2 separate regions of the Homo sapiens genome follow, and region 2 is linked to region 1. The links are contacts of gene promoters, found by promoter capture Hi-C in human tissues and cell types (Jung and others, 2019). All regions are on one chromosome and are shown on one strand. The core of a region is centred on a gene start or on the middle of the fragment in contact, and the rest is flanking DNA. Distances in the headings are between cores, read along the strand shown. Region 1 holds the start of SSH1 (slingshot protein phosphatase 1). Region 2 overlaps PRDM4 (PR/SET domain 4).

The links. Contacts are between HindIII fragments. The study calls those that stand out against the background at their distance.
Region 2: a fragment that was not itself captured here is called in contact with the fragment with the promoter of SSH1 in region 1 in 1 of the 25 tissues and cell types used here (mesenchymal stem cells).

Annotation. Positions count from the first base shown.
Region 1 is chr12:108,853,795-108,860,584 of GRCh38, reverse strand. It overlaps SSH1 (slingshot protein phosphatase 1), which reads left to right and starts at 3,002. Exons shown (of 15, transcript NM_018984.4): 1 at 3,002-3,157. The coding sequence starts at 3,089. RefSeq lists a silencer at 2,533-3,272 and enhancers at 3,703-3,752, 3,805-4,306, 5,421-6,620. The HindIII fragment of the contact is 11,424 bases long and covers 1-6,790 here.
Region 2 is chr12:107,747,266-107,754,055 of GRCh38, reverse strand. It overlaps PRDM4 (PR/SET domain 4), which reads left to right. Exons shown (of 12, transcript NM_012406.4): 4 at 1-132; 5 at 1,847-2,641. The region is part of intron 3 of PRDM4-AS1 (PRDM4 antisense RNA 1); the gene reads right to left. Among named protein-coding and RNA genes, the nearest start is that of PRDM4, 10 kb to the left of the region's middle. The HindIII fragment of the contact is 3,030 bases long and covers 1,005-4,034 here.

The DNA.
Region 1 (6,790 bases), core at 1,753-4,252:
AGTTCTCAGACTGTCGTCCCCAGACAGAAGCATCAGCATTGCCTGTGAATTTGTTAGACGTGCAAATTTTCCAGCCCTACAGCAAACCTTGTGAATTCGAAACTCTGGGAGGTGGGGTCTAGCAATCTGTATTTTCTCCAGGGGATTCTCAAACTCTCAAATTTGAAAACTAATGTAAGAGAGACATAAAAGAAAAATAAATCATAATGAAACAACATGCATTACAATGTGGAAATGCTCAGCCACTACTCCCTTAGAGGACACAGGGGCATCTCAGAAGCATGGGCCTGCCAATAATCAATGTGCTTGGATTTGAGAAATAAAATATTCTCTACTCAACTGAATTTTGTCCACAATTTTCCCTTATATTTGACATTTAAGTACCTATGACTGTCTGTCTACCTAGAGTGCAGCTACAGTTGTGGGCACCTTGTGTGGGATGCTCTAATATTAGCAGAGGCGTTGCCATCCATTACCTCCTTTTCCCTAAGGATGGATGAACAACTCTTGACAAAACTCTCAAGCAAAACAAAGTGTATTTTCCCTTCCTTTCCCTCCCCTCCCCTCCTCTCCCCTCCCCTCCCCTCCCCTCCCCTCCTCTCCCCTCCCCTCCTCTCCCCTCCCCTCCTCTCCCCTCCTCTCCCCTCCCCTCCCCTCCCCTCCTCTCCCCTCCCCTCCTCTCCCCTCCCCTCCTCTCCCCTCCTCTCCCCTCCTCTCCCCTCCCCTCCCCTCCCTTCCCTTCTCTCTTTCTCTCTGTCTTGCTGTGTCACACAGGCTGGAGTGCAGTGGCACGATCTCAGATTGCTGCAACCTCTGCCTCCCGGGTTCAAGTGATTCTCCTGCCTCAGCCTCCTGAGTAGCTGAGATTATAGGTGCCCGCCACCATGCCTGGCTAATTTTTTGTATTTTTAGGAGAGACAGGGTTTCAACATAGTCACCTTTCTGAAAATTCAGTAAAAAATACCAGGCTAGCCATGGTGGCTTCTGTCTGTAATCCCAGCACTTTGGAAGGCGGAAGCAGGAGGATTGCCTGGGCAACATAGTTAAACTTTTTTTTTAAAGGAGCTGGGTGTGGTGGTGTGTACCCGTTGTACTCAGGAGACTGAAGCAGGAGGATGATTTGAGCCTGGGAGATGGAGGCTGCAGTGAGCTATGATTGTGACATTGCACTTCAGCCTGGGTGACGGGAGTGAGACCCTGTTTCAGAAAAAAAGTGAGAGAAAGAGAGGAAGGAAGGAAGGAAGGCAGGAAGGAAGGAAGGAAGGAAGGAAGGAAGGAAGGAAGACTAGTGTTGATGCATGAAATGGAGTTAGGTTCTGGCTTCAAATTACTATAAATGGGTTTTTCACCCAGGAAACATTTTGTGGGAATGGAGCAATTCTTGTTGGGGAGACTGTCCAGTGCATTGGAAGACATTTAGCATCCAAGGCTCTTGCACTCTAAATGCCAGGAGCTCTCCCCCTCCATCAGCAAGACAACCACAAACATTCCCACAAATCCCCTCTTAGAAACGCTCCGTAGAAGCTACAGTGCCCCCCACTAGAATCACCTTTGAGATGAATCGTGCTGAGACCCTGTGAATAACATGGAGGAGGTCACAGCCCCAGGACAGAGGGAGGGACGGGGAAGAATCCAGGAGGCTGCGTGGGTTTCCTGTTGGGCAGTAAGACAAATTTGCTAAGCTGCGGGGCAGGCTGGGACCACTGCGTTTGCGAGTGCTTGTGCAACATGCAGAGGTTGGGGGTGGGAGCCGGGAGATGAGATTTTGGCTAAAAGAAAAGTTTCCTACTACTAAGTCAAGCCAGAATTGCCTTCTTGGTATCTTATTCCATGTTCCCCTCTCCATCCCCATAACTGGTCACCTCTCCCCGGGACAACAGCAGCAGCCTCCTCCCTGGTCTCCCTCAGCCCTCTGCCCCGTGGTCCCTCATCCACGCAGCAGCCGGAGCGATCTTTCCAGAGAGGATGGAGACTCCAGCCATTCCTCCCCTCTTCCCTTCCCTGAGTGCTGGCCTCCGGTTGACAAACTTCTTCCTGCTTCAGGGCACGCTGATCCCCCCTGCTTGGAGAGCTGTCTCTCTGTTCTTTCACCTGTTAATCCTGCTTATGCTCAAGCCCAAGCCTCAGAATAAAGCTCTTCTGGGAAGCCTTCCCTGACCTCCAAGGAGTTGGCTGGGTTTCAGAACACCCAGAAAGAATTCATTGAAAAAGATTAGCAAAATACTTTTTTAAAAACGTGCCTAATAACTTGATTAACCTCTGCAAAATCAGGCGAATCTATTTTGCTTACTGTTTTTGTTTTTTGTTTTTTGTTTTTTTGAGACCGAGTCTCGCTCTGTCGCCCAGGCTGGAGTGCAGTGGCGCGATCTCAGCTCATTGCAACCTCCGCCTCCCAGATTCAAGCGATTCTCTTGCCTCAGCCTCCCGAGTAGCTGGGACTACAGGCGCGCACCACTGCGCCCAGCTAATTTTTGTCTTTTTAGTAGAGACGGGGTTTCACCATGTTGGCCAGGATGGTCTCGATCTCTTGACCTCGTAATCCGCCCGCCTCAGCCTCCCAAAGTGCTGGGATTACAGGCGTGAGCCACCGCGCCCGGCCCCAGGACGTCTTTTATTTCCTGGTCGCTGTACAGTCCTGTCTGCACGGTCGCCGGGCCTCAGTTTCCCCAGGCAGAGCAGCGGGCAGGGCCCCTGGGGCGTACGGGCTCCGGGCGGCGCGCGCGCCCCCGAGTCCCAGGCCTGATAGCGGGGCGCGCGGGCGGGGGCGCGTGTGTCGGGCGCGCGAGGGACGTGATCGACCAGCCGAGGCCTCGGGCAGCCCTCAGGGCCCCCGCGCACGCGCGCCTCCTCGTCCCGCCCTGCCCGCTTCCCCGCCCACTCCGCGCACTGAGGCCTGCGCGCGCCGGCGCGGGAGGCGGGAGCTGGGGGCGGGGGCGGTGGCGACGCCGAGGGGGAGGGGCGGGCCCGGCCCGGCTCGGCCCGGCCGCCCGCGCGCGGCTCCAGGAGGCCCCGGGCCCGGCCCGGGCGGCGGTGGCGGTGGCGGCTCTAGCTCGAGACGTCTGTGGCGCCCTCGCACCGCGCCGCAGCCATGGCCCTGGTGACCCTGCAGCGCTCGCCCACGCCCAGCGCCGCCTCCTCCTCGGCCAGCAACAGCGAGGTGAGCCCCGGGCTCGCCGCGCCCGGCCTGGGCCGCCGGACGCCGCGCCGAGGCCGCCGGAGCTGGGGCCGCGCGTGCGGGGCAGGGGGGCGGCTGCGCGGGCTCCTCGGGGCCCCGCCGTAGGAACAGAGCCGGGCAGCCGGACCGGGGTGACCGTGCGAGGACTGTGTGCGATGTGACCCTGTCTTGGGGAGCTGTGCGGGGACTTTGTGTGCGGTGTGACCCCTATCGGGGGGCGACTTTGCAGGGACTGTGTATGCAGTGCGACCCCTCTGGGAGTGTCTGCAGGATACTGTGTGTGCGCTGTGACCCACATCAGGGGGTTACCCCCATCTTGGGGTGACCCCTGTTAGGCGGAGACTGTGTGCGTTGTGACCCCTAAGGGTGACTGTGCAGAGACTGTGTGTGCAGATGTGACCTCGTGATTGTGTGGGGACTGTGATTTCAGGTGTGACCCCCATCTTGGGTTGACCTCTGTCTGGGGAGGACTGTGCGTCTGTCGGGACTCCCATTTGTGAGTGACTCTGCAGTGTGACCAGGGTCCAGGGGTGACTGGATGTGCAACTGGGACCCTTGATTGGGTGACTGCGTGAGCCGCTGGTTCTGAGACCTGTGGCCGGGGTAGTTCTAGGCCCTTTGCCTGTATGCCTGGCTGTGCGATGTGAGATGTGACTGTTGCTGACCTGCCGTCCGGGGACTGTGCCAGCGTGAGACAGGCATCTGGGAGTGCCCCTACAAACGTGTGAGATTGTTTCCCCGCCTGCCGCCTCTGGAGTTCTGTCTGTAGGCGTGCCCGTGTCACTGTGTGACGGTGACCGAGCGTGCTGTGGGCTCTGTGTGGCTGTGTTTCACGTCTGTGCGTGCAGCCTTAGTCTGGCTTTTCCTTTCTGTAACATCACTCAGGCCTGTGTGTTTATGTGCATCTATCTTTCTGTGTGGCTGTGACCCATTCTGGGTGATTGCATAGGTGCATTCCTGGGTTGCGTGTCCTGGCACTGTGCGCGTTTTTGTGGGTCTGTGTGTGGCCCAGGTCCGTTTGCCTGGCCACTTTTTCCTCTGGGGTTGATTGAGGGCACTGTTGCCCTCTTAGCCTGCAGGGTTGGCCTGGCTTGTCCTAGGCTGGGGCCTTGGGCCTCTGAGCAGGTCAGCCCTCTGTAGCTGCAGGGATGACCCTCTGGTCGCGCAATCTTGCCCACCATCTCTTGAAGAACCCGTCAAGGCCTCTGGTCTAAACTCTTACCTATAACAAGGCTGAGTGTCCGCCTGCAGACCCTTAGCTGTGTTTAGAGAAGACTGGAGGAGCGGCCCTGCGGTCCCAGGCCCAGGAAGTTCCGCAGCCAGCATCTGGGCTCTTCAGCCCCTTTCTTTGTGGGAGGGAGTGGGGGAAGTTGACTGATAACACGGGGGAGGTTTGTGTGTCTGAGAGAGACAAGAGAATAATGTTTGCATTTGGCTTGACAGCCCTGTCTCCTGGTAGGGTAGTTCTTCAGCCTTGTTTTGCTGGGATTGGCAGGGACATTTTCAGAGTGGCTGGGAAGTTGAACCTTCACAGCCCCCTCCTTGGAGAGGAGAGGCCATTCATGAGTTATCTATACACAGAAGGTTCTAGTAATCCCCCTCTACACGCTGATTAGAGGCAAAAGAACACTGGCGATCAATAGCCTGCTACTGAGAAGTTAGGTTGCAGGAGCGCCTTTCCTTCCCACAGCGAGGAGGGGCTGTTTTCTGTTCCGGTCACTGCTGTCTGGCAATTTATGCACTTAATCTCAGGTTCTCATCACAAAAGTTTATGTGAGGTAAGGGGAGAGGTTGGCTTCAGGCTGAACCTGTCAGCCCAGATTTCTGATTCAAAACCCCATGTTCCTAGAGTTACTTGCAACCTAATCTGTTCTTGTCTTACGCATTTTAAGGTCTTATTATTTTTTAGTTACATACCATAAATTTGCCATTTTAAAGTGTACAATTCAGTGGTTTTTAGTATATACATGAGATTGTGCAACCACCACCATCTAATTCCAGAACATTTTCATCCTCCCCAAAATAGGAACCCTGTACCCGTTAGCCCTCACCTGCAGCCTCCCCCTGCCCCATTCTCCCTAACCTTAGGCAACCACTAATCTACTTTCTGTATCTATGGATTTGCTTATTCTGGACATTTTATATAAATGGAATCACACCCTGTGTGGCCTTTTGTGTCTGGCTTCTTTGACTCAGCATCACGTTTTCAAAGTTCATGCATATTGTAGCATGTGGCAGTACTTCATTCCTTTTCATGGCTGTATAATACTCCATTGTATGGATGTACCACATTTTGTTGGACATTTGTGTTGTGTCTACTAGATACATTTTCAATTATTATATAAAGCATTATTTTTACCAAGTGCCAATGACCCTGATAAACATAAAGTAAAACTCAGGCAGCTTTTATTTGATCATAGCAAAGCTGCAGCATTCATTGCTTGGCTTTGAATGCGCTGGGATGTTTCCCGAAGGCAAGGCCCTCGTTCAGATGTGTTGAGGTGAGAAGCAAGGTGGGATGGAGACAGCAAGTGTGTATGGGGTCAGGAGACCTAGGCCAGGCCGGTTCTGCCCTGGTCCGCCCTCGCTTGAGTTGCTTCCTGTGTGTGGGCCCTGGCTCATCTAAAAGGACTGAATTACCTCTTTCATGTGTTCCTTGGCAGATGTAGTTTCCCTGGAATAACTGACCTGAGATGGCCTTTCATCTGAGAACCTCAGAGAGTGACCGAGAGTTAAATGATTGTGAAGTCCGTACCCCCAAGTCACGTCATCACTCTTCAAATTGCAACTTCATAATGAGTCAGACACTTAGGGCAGTGCTTTCCTGACACAGCCAGGCCTGCTGCCGGCGTGGGAAACGGGGGATCACAGCCCTCAGTCCTAAGGCTCTCTTTTCTCTTTTAATTTTCTTTTTTTCCCAGTCTTTGATTATGTCACTTATGTCATTTTCCTGTGAATCTTATCTCAGTTCCTTTGTGTGAACAGGCAGAGCACAAGAATAGATAAATCAATAATTTTCAGGAATGGATCATAACATTGTTATTTCTGAGAAACATTCAAAGTGACTAATTTTCATGGGCAGATCTCCAGGCACTTTTTTGGATTGGACCAGAGTTTCTCAACCCACTGTTGATACTTGGGACCAGAACATTCTCTCTTGTGGGGGGACCATCCTGTGTGTTGTGGGATCCTGTCCTCTACCCACTAGGTGCCAGTAGTGACCTCCAGAAAAATGCCTCCAGACATCTTCCAATGTCTCCTGTTGAGAGAACTTGCTCCGCATTGAGAACCACTGGGTTAGACCCCAACATACTCTTTGTCAATTTGTTGCTCTTGTGACTTGTTTTGTGGTCATTGAAGCCTTCCCTGCTCTTTCCACTTCTCCTTCAGTGTGGGGTAGGTGCCTCTGCAGAATCTTGTATGTACTTCATCTTAATATGATGTAGGGACTCCCAGGCCCTCTGGTGTACGCTTTTTTTTTTTTTTTGAAACGAAGTATTGCTCTTTCACCAGGCTGGAGTGCAGTGGTGCAATCTCGGCTCACTGCAACCTCCGCCTCCTGGGTTCAAGTGATTCTCCTGCCTCAGCCTCCCAGGTAGCTGGGATTACAGGTAC
Region 2 (6,790 bases), core at 1,270-3,769, 1.1 Mb after region 1:
CTCTGTCTTTAATGCTACCAATGGGTATTGGGGATCGAGGGGTGATGTGTGGGTTACCTGAAAGAAACTACACCCTACCTCCACCACCTTACCCTCACCTGGAGAGCAGTTATTTCAGAACCATTCTACCTGGTAAGTGTTACAGTTACTTGAGATGTTAGAGAAAAAGAACGGCGCCAGCTTTTAAACTTTTATCCTGAAGATATGAATAACACTTTTTTCTGTTTGTCACTATTAGATATTAATCTCTAGGCAGGAAAAGTATCTTTGTTTATATTTATGTACTTTTCCTCTTAGAATGTGGCACATAACACATTAGTAATACAGTTTGACTAAGCTGAATTTCTTAATTGCACATAATTTTTCTTCTTTCTCCTCCAGTATCTCTTTCATTTGGTGTTTATAATTCTACAGCTATAATTTCAGTCAAGCACTATAGTGTCTTGTTATAGTGTCATGTTTTTTAAGTTCATTGAATTTTTATTCTGTTATAGGAGTATTATATGCTTATTGCGGAAAATTTAGCAAATAAGGGAAGGAACCACTCAGTCCCATCATCCATCTTTTTGGTGTACTTCCTTCCTGCCATTTGTTTTGGTGTATAGGTTTTTACCAATTTTCATAATTAAGACCACGGTTTCTTCTCTTGCTCTCTTTTTTCTTTTCTTTTTTTTTTTTTTCTTTTAATGGAGACGGAGTCTCAACTATTTTGCCCAGGCTGGACTGGAACTCCTGGACTCCAGTGATTCTCTCACCTCAGACTCTTGAGTAGCTTGGAATACAGGCACATGCCTGCCTTGAGACCATACCATATTTCATTTCTTTTTTATAAATAACTTTTTTAAAAAAAGAGATGGGGTTTTGGCATGTTGCCGAGGCTGGTCTCGAACTCCTGCGCTGAAGCCATCCGCCCACGTCAGCATCCCAAAGTGCCGGGATTACAGGCATGAGCCACTGTGCCCTGCCCAAGACCATACTTTCTATACGATTGTCTGTCTTTACTTTTTTCACTTTATCTTTTTCTCTGCTGTTACATGGGTATTTTCCTTTGCTGCTACGTGGTTTTCATAATTATCCTTTTTAATGATGCATTACTTTCTACTGAATGGGTATTTGATGGTTTATTATCTTTATTGTTGGACAGTTTGGTTTTTCCAGTTTTTATTACCATTGTAACTAATGCTCTTATGAACGTCTTTATGTATAATATTTACAAAATGGATTTAGAGAAGAGTACCTTAAGTGGAATTTCTTGTGCAAGAGGGTATTAACATTTTTGAGGCTCCTAATATATATGCTTCACAAAGAAGTTTTAGCAGTTTACATTCCCTCTGGCAGTTTAGTAAGTATCATTTCACCATATCCTCCCAAGCACAAGTGTTAATTTTTTTTTGTTTTAATAAAACAGGTACAATTGTGACTTGTATTAAATAGTTTGTGTTATGATAGTTTAATTATATTAAATTATATTTAATTAAGTTTTATTTTTCACATGGAAGATCTGTTTTTAAATCATTTTACCTTTTAATAATTAGGAGAGCAAATTTTACACCTTAGGACTCAGGAATTGCAACCATATGTATATTAAAAGCAGTGTTTTCGTTAGTGATTCCCAGTTAGCTTCAAAGGAACATAGTTAACTTTTTTAGGATTTTCGAGTTTTACAGGAAAAACTCAATTACGGTATATGTATGTTGCTATTTATAAAATAGTGTGTATCGATTAAATTAAAGAAGCAGGAGATTATTTGAACTTAGTTATGTTTGTAAGGAAATAGCGTCTAGTGCTTGGAATTCTTTAATAATGTACTAAAAGTCTCTGATATCTCATCTTTTCCTTTTCTCAGGCATTTTATCTTATTTAGCTGACAGACCACCTCCACAGTACATCCACCCTAACTCTATAAATGTTGATGGTAATACAGCATTATCTATCACCAATAACCCTTCAGCACTAGATCCCTATCAGTCCAATGGAAATGTTGGATTAGAACCAGGCATTGTTTCAATAGACTCTCGCTCTGTGAACACACATGGTGCCCAAAGTCTTCATCCCAGTGATGGCCATGAGGTGGCCTTGGACACAGCAATCACTATGGAGAACGTTTCTAGGGTTACCAGCCCAATTTCGACAGATGGAATGGCAGAGGAGCTTACGATGGACGGTGTTGCAGGCGAGCATTCCCAAATCCCAAATGGCTCCAGAAGTCATGAACCTCTGTCTGTGGATTCTGTGAGCAACAACCTTGCAGCAGACGCTGTAGGACATGGTGGTGTGATACCCATGCATGGGAATGGCCTGGAGCTCCCTGTGGTCATGGAGACAGACCACATTGCAAGTCGGGTCAATGGCATGTCTGACAGTGCCCTCAGTGACTCCATTCACACTGTGGCCATGAGCACCAACTCTGTAAGCGTGGCACTCTCTACCTCACACAACCTTGCCTCCCTAGAATCTGTTTCCCTCCATGAAGTTGGCCTCAGCCTAGAACCTGTGGCTGTCTCCTCCATCACCCAGGAGGTTGCTATGGGGACAGGTCATGTAGATGTATCTTCAGACAGTCTTTCTTTTGTATCACCTTCACTGCAAATGGAAGACTCCAATTCAAACAAGGAGAACATGGCAACCTTGTTTACAATTTGTGAGTGTGTTTAGCCTTTCTTTTTTGGAAATATTTGTAAAAAGGGCCACCATCCCTAACAAGTTAAGTCGTAAAGTTTGGCATTAAGGGAGTATAGAAAGCAACTAGACCTTGGAACTTTTCTTTGCCTTGGTATTGTCCTTTATATTAATGTGGTGCCTTTTCTTCAAGTAAGCCAAATGATATACATACATTTAGTTGGTTCTTAGAGCATCCTCCTGAAGAAATGAAATGTGAAGTAGTCATTTTTGTATTTTGCAGATAAGCTTAGCACATGCGGTAGTGTGTGCCTGTAGTCCCAGCTATTCTGGAGGCAGAGGCAGGAGGTTGCTTGAGCCCAGGAGTTTCAGGCTATAGTGTTCTGTGATCCCACCTGTGAATAGTCCCAGCTATTCTGGAGGCTGAGGAAGAGGGTTGCTTGAGCCCGGGAGTTTCAGGCTATAGTATGCTGCGATCACACCTGTGAATAGTACTGCACTCCGGCCTGGGCAACAAAGTGAGACCCTGTCTCTAAAAAACAATCATAGTGATAATACAATATTTTTTTAAAAAAGGTAAGTTTAGCCCAGTAATAGTTAAGGTATTTCCCAAGGTTTCACAAATAGAGAGTTATAGGGGTAAATTCTAGTAAAGCTGTTTGTGACATGCCTTGTGAAAATTATTCAGTCACTTTTATAACCCCATGGAAAAATGTAGGTGGATATAAACCAATTTTTTTCTTTGCTCAGAGTGCATATAAATTATTATTCTTGGGCGTGTAAAAGTTTTTCTTATTGGGCAACAACAACAAAAAACAATATAAAAACAGTTGATTTACTGGTGTCACTGTGTTTCATTCATGCAGGAAACATGTTGAGTGCTTATTTTAATTTATTGATAGGGTTTCTCTGTCGCCCAGGCTAGGGTGCAGTGGTGCGATCACGGCTCACTGTAGCCTCGACCTCCTGGGCTCAAGTGATCCTCCCACTTTAGCCTCCCGAGCAACTGGGACCCCAAGTGTGTACCACCACACCTGGCTAATTTTTAAATTTTTTGTAGAGATGGGGGTCTCACTGTGTTGCCTTGGCTGGTCTTGAACTCGACTCAAGCAATCTTCCTGCTTCAGCCTCCCAGAGTGCTAGGATTACAGGTGTGAGCCATCATGCTGGGCTTTTTAGTGCTTACTATGTGGCAGCCTCTGCTAGATGCTAGGGATAGAACGATCTACCAAGAGACAGTATGTGTACATACCTTTAAGGAGCTTACAGTCTGGTAGGAAGCATAGGAGACTGTTACAATATAGGATAATAATAAGTGTGACGATGGGGTGAAGTGCATTGGTACTAAAGTAGCCTGAAGGGGAGCAACTAGCCAGGCCATGGAAGGGTCGGGGAAGATTTAACCAAGGGAAGTAACATACATGTTAGCACAGACCTTAAGGACAAGAAAGATGTGGGCAGTTGAGAGTCAGGAAGACAGGAGCTGGCACCTGTAAGTGCCTAGAACCAAAAGAATCATGAGTGTTTCAGAATTGCTGAAGCATAAAATGAGGGTGAAGAGAGGGGTCATGTGGTGAGAGGAGAAGTAGGAGCCAGAACACAAAGGCTCTTTTAAGACCGGTCAAGAGTTTTAGGGAGTGAGGGTTGGGGTAGGGCTTTGCTGCAATGTGAGAATAAATTTGTTAAGAGGCAAGGAGGTGTGGAAGATATCATAATTTATGGGAAAGGTGATGATTCTCACCAATCTAGAGTAGAGGTAATTAGGATGCAGAAGAGTGGAGGACATTTGCAGAGAACCCAGTTGAGCTTATCGATTGGATAAAGTTGGAGGAGGGAAGCATTAAGGAGAAAACCCTGGTTTCTGGCTTCTGAAACTAGGTAGATAGAAACTAGGTAAGTAGAGAAGGCCATGTGTTGGCTCACACCTGTAATCCCAGCACTTTGGGAGGCTGAGGCAGAAAGATCATTTGAGACCAGGAGTTCAAGATCAGCCTGGGCAGCATAGTGAAACCCTGTCTCAGGAAAAAAAAAAAAAAAAAAGCAAACAGAAACTAAGTAGGTAGGGTAGTAGTGAAAGGCAGAGGAGGATATGATTTTGATTTTTATTATTTTGGGAGGAGTGACGATGAGTCAAGTTTTAGACATGTTGATTTCAGTGTCTGTAAGACACCCAGTAGAGATGTCTAATGAAAAGTTGTGTGTGGACCTGAGAGAGATCTGTCTGGAAATATTTAAGAATCATCAACATTAAGATGTTATTTGTGGCTGTAGAAGTGGAATGAAATCATCTAGTAAGAGTGTGGACTGAGAAGAGGGCTAGGGATATCAAGATATAGCAGAAGAGGAGCTTCCAAATAGACTCAACGGGAGCATCAAAAATAGGAGGAAGCCCAGAACCATTCTGTGCCACAAAATCCAGCCCATGGAGAGACTAGTTTTAACCTTTTAAAGTCTCAAATTTAGAGTTTTAAAATGTTTTAATCGAAGAATGTAATGAATATAAGGCTAATTTAGCAGAAGGTAGGAGGTGGCCTAAATAAGCTTATTGATTTTTTTCTTAAGAGGGCAAATGGAACCTCTTCTAAGTGTGTGTGGTTTATAATGAGATATAATTTATGTATACATTTTAAACGTGCAATTTAGTGGTTTTTTTGGTGTATTTACAAGGCTGTGCAACCACCACCACTGTCTCCTTCCAAAACATTTTAGTCACCCGGTAAAGAAACTTCATAACCATTAGTCACTTCCCATTCCCTCCTTCCGCGTATTCTCAGCAACCACTAATCTACTTTCTGTCTCTATGGATTTGCCTTTTCCAGATATTTCATATAAATGGAATCATGCGATACTTGGCCTTCTGGATCTAGTTTCTTTCTCTTCGCATAATACTGTTCTGTCTCATCCATGTTGTAGCATGTATTTGTACTTCATTTCTTTTTAGAGCTGAATAATCTGTAATATGGATATACCACATTTTGTTTATCCATTTATCAGTTGATGGACATTTGGGTTGTTTCTGCTTTTTGGCTACTATGAATAATGCTGTTATGAACTCTCATGTACAAGTTTTTGTGTGAACATCTGTTCTTGGATATTTAGGAGTAGAATTGCCGTATGTTTAACTTTTTGAGGAACTGCTTTCCAAAGTGGCTGTGCCATGTTACCGTCCTAGCAGCAGTGGATGAGGGTTCTAATTTCTCCACATTTTTGCCAACAGTTAATTTTTTATTTTTATTTATTTATTTTTTTATTTTTTTGAGACAGAGTCTGGCTCTGTCACCCAGGCTGGTGTGCAGTAGCGCAATCTCAGCCTCACTGCAACCTCCACCTCCCGGGTTCAAGCCATCCTTCCACCTCAGCCTCCCCAGTAGCTGGGACTACAAGTGCTCGCCACCATGCCTGGCTGATTTTTTGTATTTTTGGTAGAGACGATTTGCCGTGTTTCTACCTGGTCTCATGCGTTCGAGACCAGCCTAGGCAACATGGCAAAACCCTGTCTCTAGCAAAAGTATTAAAAAATCAGCCAGACGTGGTGGTGCATGCCTGTGGTCCCAGCTACCCAGCAGGCTGAAGCAGGAACGCCACTGCACTCCAGCCTTGGTGACAGATCGGGACCCCGTCTTAAAAAAAAAAAGAAAAGACAGATAGATGACTGTGGTTCTAAGGTTTATGTATTCCAACTATTTTGTGAATGGTTGTGGAGTTTAAATGTAATGATTGAGTAATAGTATCATAAATACTGTTCCTTAGCAGAGTGGAAAGTGTAAAGAATAGAGCAGAAGATTTACGGAGGAGGACACTCATAAGCTTGTGAAAGTGAAGTTGTAGTAAGAATAGAGAACAATATATAAAGGGAGCATCCTCTCTGCCAATGCAGAAAGAAAGACCATATGAAAAATAAGAAATTAAGAATTTTAAGCAAATAATGTCTGCAAGAATACAATTCTTCTGCCCTTTGAAAGAGCAGGCTGCAAATTGTTTTTGTCTTAAGAATGTGTCCTCAAAACTTGGTTGACCATCTTGTTTATAGTGAAGCAAAAGAGTACAGTGGTGTAGCTGGCTCTGACGCCAGTGTCCTATGTTCATAGCATAGGTCACTGGGGTCAGAGCCAGCTGTACCACCGTGGCCATATTTTGGCTCTGCATAACTAACAGCATTTCAACTCAGTTT